Linked DNA regions of Homo sapiens: regions 1 and 3 are each linked to region 2. Evidence: promoter capture Hi-C in 16 types of primary human blood cells and fetal thymus (Javierre and others, 2016). All regions are on one chromosome and are shown on one strand. The core of a region is centred on a gene start or on the middle of the fragment in contact, and the rest is flanking DNA. Distances in the headings are between cores, read along the strand shown. Region 1 overlaps RNF10 (ring finger protein 10). Region 2 holds the start of PLA2G1B (phospholipase A2 group IB). Region 3 overlaps RNF10 (ring finger protein 10).

Region 1 (4,670 bases), core at 949-3,448, 220 kb after region 2:
GAGTTAGCTGGGGTTCTGCATCCCCTGAGTTTTCCTTTTTTTTTTTTTTTGAGACGGAGTCTCACTCTGTCGCCCAGACTGGAATGCAGTGGCACGATCTCCGCTCACTGCTAGCCCCGCCTCCCGGGTTCACGCCATTCTCCTGCCTCAGCCTCCCGAGCAGCTGGGACTACAGGCGCCCGCCACCAAGCCTGGCTAATTTTTTGTATTTTTAGTAGAGATGGGGTTTCACCATGTTAGCCAGGATGGTCTCTATCTCCTGACTTCGTGATCCACCTGCCTTGGCCTCCCAAAGTGCTGGGATTACAAGCATGAGCCATCGTGCCTGGCTTTTTTTTTTTTAGAGACAAGCTCTCGCTCTGTCACTTAGGCTGGCATGCAGTGGTGCAAACATAACTGACTGAAACCTTGAACTCCTTGGCTTAAGAGATCCTTGAACTCTTGAACCACTGTGCCTGGTTTATCTTTTTCTTTTTTTTTTTGAGATGGAGTCTCACTGTGTCTCCCAGGCTGGAGTGCAGTGGTGCAATCTTGGCTCACTGCAAGCCCCGCCTCCCAGGTTCACACCGTTCTCCTGCCTCAGCCTCCTGAGTAGCTGGGACTACAGGCTCCCGCCACCACGCCTGGTTAATTTTTTGTATTTTTAGTAGAGACAGGGTTTCACCATGTTAGCCAGGATGGTCTTGATCTCCTGACCTCGTGATCCACCCGCCTCAGCATCCCAAAGTGCTGGGATTACAGGCGTGAGCCACCGTGCCTGGCCTTTTTCTTTTTTTGAGACAGAGGCTCACTCTGTAGCCCAGGGTGGAGAGCAGTGGTGCCATCATAGCACACCGCAGCCTCAACCTTGGCTTAAGCAATCCTTCCAACTCAGCCTCTCAGCTAGGACTGCAGGTGTGTGCCACCACATTGGGCTAATTTTTAAATTTTTTGTAGAGATGGGGTCTTGCTATGTTGCCCAGGCTGGTCGCAAACTCGTGGACTCAAGTGATCCTCTTGCTTTGGCTTCCCAAAGTGTTGAGACAACCGGCATGAGCCACCAAGTCCAGCGCTGAAACTTTGCTTTCTAATTGTTACTACTAGTGCCATGTTTGACACTAACTGTTGCTAACTGAAGTAATAGGTAAAAGTTTAGTTTTTAAGTTCTAACTTTATTTATTTGTTTTTTGAGACAGAGTCTCACTCTGCTGCCCAGGCTGGAGTGCAGTGGCGTGATTTCAGCTCACTGCAACCTCTGCCTCCCGGGTTCAAATGATTCTCATGCCTTAGCCTCCCAAGTAGCTGGGATTACAGGCGTGTGGCACCACACCTGGCTAATGTTTGTATTTCTAGTAAAGATGGGGCTTCACCATGTTGGCCAGGCTGGTCTCGAACTTCTGGCCTCATGTGATCTGCCTGCCTTGGCCTCCCAAAGTGCTGGGATTACAGGGAGCCACCATGCCTGGCCTTAAATTGTAACTAAGGTAAGGGTCACTGTCCGTAAGCAGGATTTAAGGGTAACTGGTAGGAGTGAACCTAGCCTGTTTCTGTGACTGTTCTGTTTACATTGCTGCCATTTCACATGGTTTAGATTGACTCCCAGGTTTTAGGTGGTCAGGTTTGGAGAGAATGACATCTCATTTATACAGTGAGGTTGACAGACTATGGGCGTGAAGTGGTTGCTTTCAAAATTTGGTCTCTGATTTATTAACTTACATTTTCTTCTTTCTGAGGCATTGTTTAACCTTGAATTTATTTAGCCTGCTATAAAAAGCTGGTGATTGTACTTACCAAGAAATAATTTTTTCTAAGTTTAAAAAAAATTACTCAGATAATATTACAGGTCTGCAGACAGGTACTTTAGTATAGTTATATCAGAATCTTAGAGGGTGAGGCCTGAGCATAGGAATTCCGTAAAAGCTCATCTGTGTGATTCCTATGAACTGGCAAGATTGAGAATCATTGTAATAAGATAAAAGTGGGGCCAGACCCCATGGCTCATGCTTATAATCCCAGCACTTTGGGAGGCTGAGGTGGGAAGATCACCTGAGCCTGGAGGATCGCCTGAGCCCAGGAGTTTGAGACCAGCCTGGGCAACATAGTGAGACCCCCGTCTGCACAAAAAAATTTAAAAATTAGGTCGGGCCTGATGGCTCACGCCTGTAATCCCAGCACTTTGGGAGGCTGAGGCTGGTGGATCGCTTGAGCTCAGGAGTTTGAGACCCATCTGGGCAACATGGCAAAACCCCGTCTATATCAAAAATATAAATTAAGCCAAGAATGGTGTATATGCCTGGAGTCCCAGCTACTTGGGGGGCTGAGGCAGGAGGATTGCTTGAACCCAGGAGTTGGAGGCTGCAGTAAGCCGAGATCATGCCACTGCACTCCAGCCTGGGTGACAAAAGTAAGATCCTGTCTCAAAATAAATTTAAAAATTAGCTGGGTGTGGTGGTGCACACCTGCAGTCCTAGCTGGGAGGCTGAGTTGGAAAGATGCTAAGCTGAGGTTGAGGCTGCAGTGTGCTATGATGGCACCACTGCTTTCCACCCTGGGGGAATAAAACATGCTGGGCATGGTGGCTCATGCCTGTAATCCCAGTACTTTGGGAGGCCGAGGTGAGTGGATCACTTGAGGTCAGGAGGTCGAGACCAGCCTGGCCAATGTGGCGAAACTCCATCTCTACTAAAAATACAGAATTAGCCAGGCGTGGTGGCTCATGCCTGTAATCCTAGCTACTTGGGAGGCCAAGGCAGGAGAATTGCTGGAACCCGGGAGGTAGAGGTTGCAGTGAGCCGAGATTGCGCCACTGCACTCCAGCCTGGGCAATAGAGTGAGACTGTTAAAAACAAAAAAAAGATAAACCAGGCATGGTGGTTCATGCCTTTAATCCTAACAGTTTGGAAGGCCGAGGCAGGATTGCTTGAGTCCAGGAGTTGGAAACCAATCAGGGTAACAAAGTGAGACCCCAACTCTACAAAAAAAAAAAAAAAAATTGGCTGGGAGTGTTGGCTCATGCCTATAATACCAGCACTTTGGGAGGCCGAGCAGATGGATCACTTGAGCTCTGGAGTTTAAGACCAGCCTGGGCAACAAAGGCAAACCTCGTCTCTACAAAAAACACAAAAATCAGCTGGACATGGTGGTGAGTGCCTGTAGTCTCAGCTGCTCAGGAGGCTGAAGTGGGAGGGTGGCTTGAGCCTGAGAGGTGGAGGTTGTAGTGAACGAGATTGTGCCACTGCACTCTAGCCTGGGTGACAGAGCAAAACCTTGTCTCTAAATAAATAAAGTGCATAAGTAATTATTATGTTGTTAGAGTATAAATAAATCGGTGTAACGGTTCTAGAAAGCAACCTAGGGATGTGTAAATGGCTTTAATGACCATATTTTATCTGTCAGTTCCACTTTTTGAGAATTTGACATAATCACCTAAGCCTCTGTGTAAAGAGACTCCCAATGGTATTATATTAAACTAACAAAAAATTAGAAGCCACCTAAATATACAACAATGGGGGATTGGTTACATTATTCTGTAAGTATGTGGCCAAGAAGGGTACAGCAATTAATCATGCTTCTGAAGACTAGGGATGCATAAAAATGCTCACAGAGTAGTAAGCAGAAAACAATATATCTTCTATGCTTGTCATTTTATATAAGATTTGTGACACGTATGTAAAATGGAGATTAAAAGGAAAACACTGTTAATGAGTTAGTGCTCTGTGGGTACTGGCAACTTTAAATTATTCTACACTATTTTCAGAATTGAACACATATTATAATTGAAGAGAAAAACAAGAAACATTTTTATTTTTTATTTTTTGAGACGGAGTCTCGCCCTGTCACCCAGGCTGGAGTGCAGTGGCACGATCTCAGCTCACTGCAAGCTCTGCCTCCTGGGGTTCACGCCGTTCTCCTGCCTCAGCCTCCCGAGTAGCTGGGACTACAGGTGCCCGCCACCATGCCCGGCTAATTTTTTTTTTTTTTTTTGGATTTTTAGTAGAGACAGGATTTCACTGTGTTAGCCAGGATGGTCTCAATCTCCTGACCTCGTGATCCGCCCACCTCGGCCTCCCAAAGTGCTAGGATTACAGGCATGAGCCACCGCGCCTGGCCATTTTTAAAAAGGATATGACTCAATCTGATCCAATATGCTTTTATTTATTTAATTAAATTTTTTTTTGAGATAATCTTGCTCTTTGCCCAGGCTAGAGTGCTGTGGCACGATCTCGGCTCACTGCAACCTCTGCCTCCCAGGTTCAAGCAGTTCTCCTGCCTCAGCCTCCCAAGTATCTGGGATTATAGGTGCCCGCCACCATGCGCGGCTAATTTTTTGTATTTTTAATAGACATGGGGTTTCACCATGTTGGCCAGGCTGGTCTCAAACTCCTGACCTCAGGTGATCCACCTGCCTCGGCCTTCCAAAGTGCTGGGATTACAGGCGTGAGCCATTGCGCCCAGCCCCCAGTATGCTTTTAGAGCTCAACTTCTTTTGTTCTGTCAATTTAACAGCTTCTGAATTTGACCTCTAGAGCTTCTGTAAACACAGTTTTGCTGTTAATGCCTTTTGAATATATTTGCTAAGGCCTAGGACAACCCCTTGTAGTATAGAATCTGGTTATGTTATAGTAATTTAAAAAGGAATCTCTTCTGTCCTGTTACCAGGTAAAATACTTTTCCTTAATACAGAATGCCTG
Region 2 (4,552 bases), core at 1,682-4,181:
TAAATCATGGCTGTTGTTACTATTATTTCCCCCCGGCCTACTGAGAACCAACTAGAATTCATAGGTCAAGGAAGGGATAAACCTACTGCTACAGGTGATTGCCGAGCCAGAGCACGAGTATGAATAGGTGTGGGTGTACGGGTTGTCCAGCAGAAATTTACAGCTGTCCAGCTTCTTGGCCTGGTCATAGCAGTTGTCATGTGTCTGGCAGCACCTGGAAAGTGGGAGGGACAGCTGAGATAGGAGTAAGTGCAGAGCAATAGGTCAGCCCTCACCTGCCCACTCTCAGGAACAGGTGGGGATGACTTCGCCAAGATGCTTCAGGAGAAATGATCCTATGGCTTGAAAAAATATAAGTCCTTTTATCATATATTTATTGAAAGCATTTTTTTTTTTTGAGACAGAGTTGCTCTGTTACCCAGGCTGGACAGCAGTGACACGACCTTGGCTCACTGAAACCTCCAACTCAGTCTCCCAAGTAGCTGGGGTTACAGGCGCTCGCCACCATGTCCGGCTAATTTTTGTATTTTTTAGTAGAGACAGGGTTTCACCATGTTGGCCAGGCTGGTCTCGAACTCCTGACCTCAAGTGATCCGCCCGCCTCGGCCTCCCAAAGTGCTGGGATTACAGGCATGAGCCACCGCGCCTGGCCTGAAAGCGATTTTTAACATGGTTGCAAGAATACAGTAAAATCCTGTATTCAGAAGGTGCAGTGACAACCACTGCTAGAAAATGACACGTGGATAGTTGCTGTGATGTTTACTGTTGCTACATTCTGCCACTGGAGGGCAGCATCGCCCACTGTTTTGCACGTCGGTCATTGTTTCCATCTCTAACGGGGTGCGTTCGCTACAGGGTCCTCTTGGAACATATTTGTTTATTTGACAAGAGGTGAAAATATGTTATCCTTAGCAGATATGCAAGTCCCCTTTGTATGCCTCGTGAGATCCTTGGCGTGTGCCCCACCCCGCCCCCGGCAGGCACTCCAATTTTCCTGCAGGCGGATCACTTACTTGTCCAGTTCATCCACGGGGGTGCCTGAGCCCCCCAAGCCACAGTAGCAGCCGTAGTTGTTGTATTCCAAGAAGGGGTCACTCCCCGGGATCACGCACTTGATCATTTTGCGGAACTGCCACACGGCCCGAGGGCTGATGCCGCTGTCGGCGGCGGCCACTGCAAGAAGACATAGCCAGAGTTCAAATCGGTCTGCCAGCACCCCGGGGACACACTGCCTTCCTGCTCCCTCGGGTCCCACGCTGCCTCCCTGACCCCTGCCAGCTGCCTCCTCTGAAGACCGTTGGACCCAGGAACCTGGTAAAGTGAAAGTGGGTAGAGGTTTTTTTTTTTTTTTAATGAAAACTTTATATATATAAAGTTTATATCTTTGTGTGTGTGTATATATATATATATCTTCTTCTTTTTCTTCTTCTTCTTCTTCTGGGACCCTACCGCCTCAGCTAGGATTACAGGCATGTGCCACCCAGCTAGGCCTGATAGTTTTTTTTTTTTTTTTGAGATGGAGTCTTGCTCTGTTGCCCAGGTTGGAGTGCAGTGACACGATTTCAGCTCACTGCAAACTCTGCTTCCCGGGTTCACGCCATTCTCCTGCCTCAGCCTCCCTAGGTCAGATAGTTTTAAACTATCTGCACTGTTTATCCAGTGAATATTTATTGAGCACTTACTATGTGCCAGGCTCTGTCCTAGGAGCTAGAGATACAGCAGTGAACAGATATAATAATAATAATAATAATAATAATAATAATAATAATAATAATAATCTCTAACCTCATGGAGCTTACAACCTAGTGGGAGAGAAAAACAATAAATAATAAATGTGATAAGGCCGGGCACGGTGGCTCATGCCTGTAATCCCAGCACTTTGGGAGGCCGAGGCAGGCGGATCACAAGGTCATGAGATCGAGACCATCCTGGCTAACACGATGAAACCCCGTCTTTATTAAAAATACAAAAAAATTAGCGGGGCGTGGTGGCAGGCGCCTTTAGTCCCAGCTACTGGGGAGGCTGAGGCGGGAGAATGGCGTGAACCCAGCAGGTGGAGCTTGCAGTGAGCCGAGATCGCACCACTGTACTCCAGCCTTGGCGACAAAGCAAGACTCTGTCTCAATAATAATAAGAATAATAATAAATGTGATAAGTAAGGAAACTGGATACTGCATTAGAAAGGGGAAGAATAGAGCAGGATGAGGAGAATCTAAAAGGGAGGTCACCCAGCCTGGCCAACATGGTGAAAACCTGTCTCTACCAAAAAAAACACACAAAAAATTAGCTGGGCATGGTGGTGTGTGCCAGCTACTTGAGAGCTACAAGTCCCAGCTACTTGAGAGGCTGAGGCAAGAGAATTATTTGAACCCAGGAGATGGAGGTTGTAGTGATCTGAGATCACGCCACCGCACTCCAGCCTGGGCGACAGAGTGAGCCCCGTCTCAAAAATAAAATAAAGTAAAATAAAAATAAAAATTAAAATAAAATAAAATAAATGGGAGATTGGCCTAACTACTTAGTTGAGTAAGGTGGGAGGATCACTTGAGCCCACGAGTTGGAAGCTGTGGTGAGCTATGATCATGCCACTGAACTCCAGCCTGGGTGATAGAGCAAGACCCTGTCTGGAAAAAAGAAAATAAAGGCAAGCTTTCTTAGCTCAGGCAATCTGAGTTCAGACTTGCAGGTTGAAAAAGTGCCAGCCTTGAGGGAACCCCAATAGAGGAGCCCTTAAGCCCCACTGGGAACCTCGAATTGAGACTGCGGGGCTGGCCATCCCTGTTTGCTGTGGCCTGTGGCCCCCATTCCAGAGGAGTGAGATCTTAGCTCACTTGGGAGAGAAAGGCGGGTGGAGCCGGGGAGACTTGCCTACCTGTGAGCAGCACAGCTAGCACAAGGAGTTTCATCTTGCAGTCAAGGTGAGAAAAGAACTGAGATGACCAGTCTCAGGTATAGTCTTATAGTCAGTCTCCACACAACCCTGCCCAGATAAGGCTGGAGTGTTTGCTTTGCTCTTGGCTGAGTTTGGGGCTGGCCTTGAATCTGTCTGTTGCAGGAATGACCCTGACGATTTGCCAGCATGGGATCACTGGAAAATATGTTATGCATTTGTCCTTAGCAACTGTTAACCAAAGGGATGGTTTCTGGAGTTTTCAGATCTTACAATCTTGACCCTCATACCCACCACTTTGTACTCAGCCCAGCTTCACGGGCTGGTTGGGGAAAGCAAAGCCGTCAGTTCAGTCGGACGCTGGGATAAGGGAGACAAGAAGGAAGTGCAGCCTGGGCAACATAGAGAGACCTCATCTCTAAAAAAAAAAATGTTAACCAGGTGTGGTGGTGGATTGCACCTGTGATCCCAGCAACTCAGGAGGCTGAGATGGGAGGATCTCTTGAGCCAGGGAGGTCAAGGCTGCAATGAACAGTGATTGAGCCTCTGCAGCAGAGTGAGACCCTATTTCAAAAAAAAAAAAAAAAAAAGAAAGAAAGAAAAAAGATCGCTGCCTGCAGCCTCAATGTCTTATCAAGTGCCTGAATCTGTGCACTGGGTCTGGTTGAATAGTCCCATCAGTCGTGCACCTTGCAGATAAAGAGACAGGTTCAGAGAGTTGCGGTAACTTGCCCAAGGTCACACAGTTGGCAAATGACAAAATAGGGCTCCAGTTTAGATCTGTCTGATTCCAAGGCAGAGGTTTTATTTTTTTCCACCACTCCGCTCTGCAGTGTGGGTTTGTGAGAAAAACCTGGGCTTTGGATTCCAAAGGCCTGAGTCTGAATTATAGAATACTAAAGGGCATTAGAACTGTCATATCAGAGGCCAGGCACGGTGGCTCATGCCTGTAATCCCAGCACTTTGGGAGGCTGAGGCTGGCAGATCACCTGAGGTGGAGAGTTCGAGACCAGCCTGACCAACATGGAATAACCCTGTCTCTACTAAAAACACAAAATTAGCCAGGCATGGTGGCTTATGCCTGTAATCCCAGCTACTCCGGAGGCCGAGGCAGGAGAATGGCTTGAACCCTGGAGGCGGAGGTTGCGGTGAGCTGAGATCACGCCATTGCACTCCAGCCTAGGGAACAAGAGCAAAACTCCATCTCAAAAAAAAACCTGTCACATCACATATCTATTTATTTATATATATTTTTTGAGACGGAGTCTTGCTCTGTTGCCTAGGCTGGAGTGCAATGGCGCGATCTTGGCTCACTGCAAGCTCTGCCTCCCAGGTTCATGCCATTCTCCTGCCTCAGCCTCCCAAGTAGCTGGGACTACAGGCACCCACCACCACGCCCGGTTAATTTTTTTTTTTGTATTTTTAGTAGAGATGGGGTTTCACCGCATTAGCCAGGATGGTCTCGATCTCCTGACCTCGTGATCCACCTGCCTCGGCCTCCCAAAATGCTGGGATTACAGGCGTGAGCCACCGCGCCCGGCCAAATATCTACATAACATTGTTTAGCTGAAATTCACATAACATTAACCACGTTTAAGTAAACAATTCGGGGGCATTTAGTACCTTCACAGTGTTGTGCAACCATCACCTCTATGGGGTTCC
Region 3 (4,670 bases), core at 1,193-3,692, 230 kb after region 2:
ACTCTGTTGCCAGGCTGGAATGCAGTGGTGCAATCCCGGCTCACTGCAATCTCCGCCTCCCAGGTTCAAGAGATTCTCCTGCCTCAGCGTCCTGAGTAGCTGAGATTACAGGCACGCACCACCACACCTGGCTAGTTTTTGTATTTTTAGTAGAGACGGGGTTTCACCATGTTGGCCAGCATGGTCTCAATCTCTTGATCTTGTGATCCGCCTACCTCAGCCTCCCAAAGTGCTGGGATTACAGGTGTGAGCCACCGTACTCCGCCTGGTGTTATTTTTTTTTAATTTTATTTTTTGAGGCAGAGTTTTGCACTTGTTGCCCAGGCTGGAGTGCAATGGTGCGATCTTGGCTCACTGAAACCTCTGCCTCCTGGGTTCAAGCGATTTTCTTACTCCAGCCTCCCTAGTAGCTGGGATTATAGGCGCCCGTCACCACGCCCAGCTAATTTTTTGTATTTTTAATAGAAACAGGGTATCTCTATGTTGGCCAGGCTGGTTTCGAACTCCTAACTTCAGGTGATCCACCTGCCTCAGCCTCCCAAAGTGCTGAACGTGAGCCACCACACCCAGCTGGCTTGGTCTTAAACTTCTAAACTCAAGCAATCTTCCTGTCTTGGCCTCTCAAAGTACTGGGATTATAGGTGTGAGCCACTGCGCTGGTCCACCATTTCTTTATTCTTTATTGTTGGTTTTACTGGTTGGTTTGAGCTTTTCTTTTTCTGTGTGTGGTTTTTTTTGTTTTTTTTTTTTTTGAGACAGAGTTTCGCTTTTGTTGCCCAAGCTGGAATGCAGTGGCATGATCTTGGCTCACTGCGACCTCTGCCTCCTGGGTTCAAGCGATTCTCCTGCCTCAGCCTCCCAAGTAGCTGGGATTACAGGCATGCCCTACCAGGCCCGACTAACTTTTTTGTATCTTTAGTAGAGACGGGGTTTCACCATGTTGGTCAGGCTGGTCTCGAACTCTTGATCTCAAGTGATCCACCCGCCTTGACCTCCCAAAGTGCTGGGATTACAGGTGTGAGCCATGGTGCCTGGCTGGTTTGAGCTTTTCTGATATTACATACAATGCTGTAACAATAAACGCGTGACTAAAGTTTTGACTACATCTCTGGGTTTCTTAGATTTCTTATATCAAGAGCAGAGCTACAGACCTTATTTTAAGACCATTGTTAAATTATTTTCTAGGAAATCATGCTAAATTACCCCATTTTCACCCCAGAGAAAAGGCTGTATTTGAAAATTCCTATTTAGCTACACCATCGTGAGCTTTGAATGTTGCATTTCTTTGATCTTGCTGGCATTCTTATAGATGAACAGCACAGCCAGTACTCCAAGTTGCTGCTGGCCTCTAAGGAGCAGGTGCTGCACCGGGTAGTTCTGGAGGAGAAAGTAGCACTAGAGCAGCAGCTGGCAGAGGAGAAGCACACTCCCGAGTCCTGCTTTATTGAGGCAGCTATCCAGGAGCTCAAGGTGAGAGGATGCATTGGAGATGCTAAACCTTTTCACTTTCTCGGCGTTCTGTGGTGAAAACCAGAAATGCTAAACCTTTTCACTCTGTCGGGGGTGAGATGATGGACGCTGGGGATTAAGTTAGTTCCATTCCACATTTAAGACAATAAGCAGAGAATGGCTAAAAAAGCCAATTTGTTTTGGGCTTTGTTTGATGACAGTAGAGAAGGTTTAACCTAGGGCTTTTAAAGCTCTTTCTAGAGCTGAAAGGAGCAAGTCAAAATGATTTTATAACTAATTGTGACAGTGGAGTTTTTTAGATTAGCTATGTTCTTAAAGCAAGTTAGAGTTCTTTGTTTTCTGGGAAAATACTTAAGATTCTATTCTAGAGGTGTTTTGAAAGACATTGTGGAGAAAGTATTATGGCCTGCCCAGTATGCCTTAGGAGTACCTGAAACGGCAAGAATTACACAAGAACAGAATTCCCTGGGTCTTTTATCTTCCACAACAGAGATTCTTGAAGCATCACAACCACTGGTTGTTAGGTCCCACTTTGAGATATTGATTGCATAGGTTAAGCTCAGTAGGCTCAGTAATTTGCATATAACAAGTTCTAGGGTGATTCTGATGGCTGCTCATCCCCAGACCACACTCCTGGAACCACTGATCTAGCTTAGAGCAATAGAAGCCCATATTTATTGAGTGATCAGCATTTGATAGGACTTGTGCTATACACATTTATCTCACTTAAGCTTCTAGTGTGGTAGATAGAACTATCCCCTTTCATGGATGAGGAAACTGAATCCTGGGTTGGGTAATTTGCTAGTAAGGGATGCAGCTGGTATTTGAATTCCCTTCTCCCTGACTCCCAAGGGCTCCTTGGGTAGAGTCCTGTGTATTTAACTTTTGCTTTCTTTCTATAATACGTTGCAGCCGTATTTGTTCAAATGCCATTACAGGCATAAGAAAGGCTACATAGAATTAGAGCTGTCCAGGCTGAGGTGGAGTTAGCTAAATCCTTCCTACTACTCTGGACCTCTGTCTGAGCATAGTTTGTAAAAACTAGGTTAGTTTCATGTTCTTAGATTTCTGTTCTGGAAGTTTTTTGTATAGTGTTGTTTGTGTCAGATTCTCTTTTATTTTTTTTAACTTTTAAGTTCAGGGGTACAAATGCAGGTTGTTACATGGTAAACCTGTGTCATGGGGGTTTGTTATACAGATTTTCACCCAGGTATTAAGCTTAGTACCCATTGGTTATTTTTCCTGATCCCCTCCCTCCTCCCACTCTCCACCCTCTGATAGGCCTCAGTGTGTGTTCCCCTCTATGTGTCCATGTTTCATCATTTAGCTCCCACTTAGAAGTGAGAACATGTGTGCGATATTTGGTTTTTCTTTTTCTTTCTTTCTTTTTTTTTTTTTTTTTTTTGAGACAGAGTTTTGCTCTCGTTGCCCAGGCTGGAGTGCAGTGGCGTGATCTCGGCTCATCACAACCTCTGCCTCCAAGGTTCAAGTGATTCTCCTGCCTCAGCCTCCTGAGTAGCAGGAATTACAGGCATGCCCCACCATGCCTGGGTTATTTTGTATTTTTAGTAGAGATGGGGTTTCTCCATGTTGGTCAGGGTGGTCTTGAACTTCCAACCTCAGGTGATCCGCCCACCTCAGTCTCCCAAAGTGCTGGGATTACAGGCATGAGCCACCACACCTGGCCGTATGTGTCTTTACAGTAGAATGATTTATATTCCTTTGGCTATATACCCAGTAATGGGATTGCTGGGTGAAATTTTATTTCTGTCTTTAGGTCTTTGAGGAATCACCACACTGTCTTCCACAATGATTGAACTAATTTACACTCCCCAGTGTCAGATTCTAAGCAGATTCCAATCCTTAGTGGGTATTGCATGCTTTTTGCTTCCTGTTTCCCTCAAAGTTGAGATATTTAAGCACCTAATTCCTTCCCATTGGGTCTCATTGCCTTTTAACTTTTGGTCCTGTTGAGAGGCCATTCTAAGCCCTTGCCCTTCAAGCTAAGTGTGTGTCTGGAAACTTAACCTTCTCTGGTGTTCTCTCTGGCCACGTTAGACTCGGGAAGAGGCTCTGTCGGGATTGGCCGGAAGCAGAAGGGAGGTCACTGGTGTTGTGGCTGCTCTGGAACAACTGGTGCTGATGGCTCCCTTGGCGAAGGAGTCTGTTTTTCAACCCAGGAAGGTTAGTGTGTTCCTGTTACTAAGTGGCTGCCGTTCCTCAAATGCTGTCATTGAGCTGGTAGGCATTACTGTGAGATCTAAACCTTCTCAAGAGAAGAGGGGACAATGAGTATTTTCTGTATGCTTGTTATTAGTTCTTTCCCCAGGGGTGTTAAATCAGTGAACACGACAGCTAAGATAAACATCTAGGGAGCTTGGCTCTTAGGTCTGCATTTGCCACATTGCTTTCGGAAAGCAGGAGATATCCTTTCTGTTGACTTAGAGTTTGCTGCAACAGGGTGTGCTGGAGTATCTGTCTGCCTTCGATGAAGAAACCACGGAAGTTTGTTCTCTGGACACTCCTTCTAGACCTCTTGCTCTCCCTCTGGTAGAAGAGGAGGAAGCAGTGTCTGAACCAGAGCCTGAGGGGTTGCCAGAGGCCTGTGATGACTTGGAGTTAGCAGATGACAATCTTAAAGAGGGGACCATTTGCACTGAGTCCAGCCAGCAGGAACCCATCACCAAGTCAGGCTTCACACGCCTCAGCAGCTCTCCTTGTTACTACTTTTACCAAGGTGAGGGTGCCGGAAGAGAGGGCTGGGTTGCCGCAGAGGTGTTTCAGAGGTGACCCGGTGCTCTAAGCAGAGGAGCGCCACTAGATCCTGTGGCTTGGGTGGCTTGAGCCCTTGGGCATGGGGAGGGGTGGGGAGCCTCCTGGGGACTGGCCAAGACTGGTGTGTGATAGAGCCCCTTGTCCTCAGCGGAAGATGGACAGCATATGTTCCTGCACCCTGTGAATGTGCGCTGCCTCGTGCGGGAGTACGGCAGCCTGGAGAGGAGCCCCGAGAAGATCTCAGCAACTGTGGTGGAGATTGCTGGCTACTCCATGTCTGAGGTGAGGCCTTCCTGTAGAAATGGAGGGTCAGGCAGCAGTATTAACCTAATCTCTTTGAGGTAGGCCTAGCCATCCTAAGTTCACAAACCTTCAAGGCCTTTAGTTTTTGTATTTTTAGTCTTTCTGTCAGTGATGGTGCTGTG

The links. The method cuts DNA at HindIII sites, captures the fragments that hold promoters and counts their contacts. A CHiCAGO score of 5 or more calls a contact.
Region 1: a contact is called between a fragment that was not itself captured here and the fragment with the promoter of PLA2G1B in region 2, in 1 of 17 cell types (naive B cells). The highest score is 5.0, in naive B cells.
Region 3: a contact is called between a fragment that was not itself captured here and the fragment with the promoter of PLA2G1B in region 2, in 2 of 17 cell types (M2 macrophages and endothelial precursors). The highest score is 5.6, in M2 macrophages.

Annotation. Positions count from the first base shown.
Region 1 is chr12:120,541,403-120,546,072 of GRCh38, forward strand. All of the region lies in intron 1 of RNF10 (ring finger protein 10), which reads left to right. Among named protein-coding and RNA genes, the nearest start is that of RNF10, 9.4 kb to the left of the region's middle. The HindIII fragment of the contact is 8,638 bases long and covers 1-4,670 here.
Region 2 is chr12:120,324,848-120,329,399 of GRCh38, forward strand. PLA2G1B (phospholipase A2 group IB) reads right to left here and starts at 2,932. Exons shown (of 4, transcript NM_000928.3): 1 at 2,873-2,932; 2 at 1,014-1,173; 3 at 87-214. The coding sequence starts at 2,906. RefSeq lists an enhancer at 829-888. The HindIII fragment of the contact is 6,320 bases long and covers 2,648-4,552 here.
Region 3 is chr12:120,559,417-120,564,086 of GRCh38, forward strand. It overlaps RNF10 (ring finger protein 10), which reads left to right. Exons shown (of 17, transcript NM_014868.5): 7 at 1,310-1,470; 8 at 3,529-3,654; 9 at 3,931-4,207; 10 at 4,394-4,527. Among named protein-coding and RNA genes, the nearest start is that of POP5, 20 kb to the right of the region's middle. The HindIII fragment of the contact is 487 bases long and covers 2,200-2,686 here.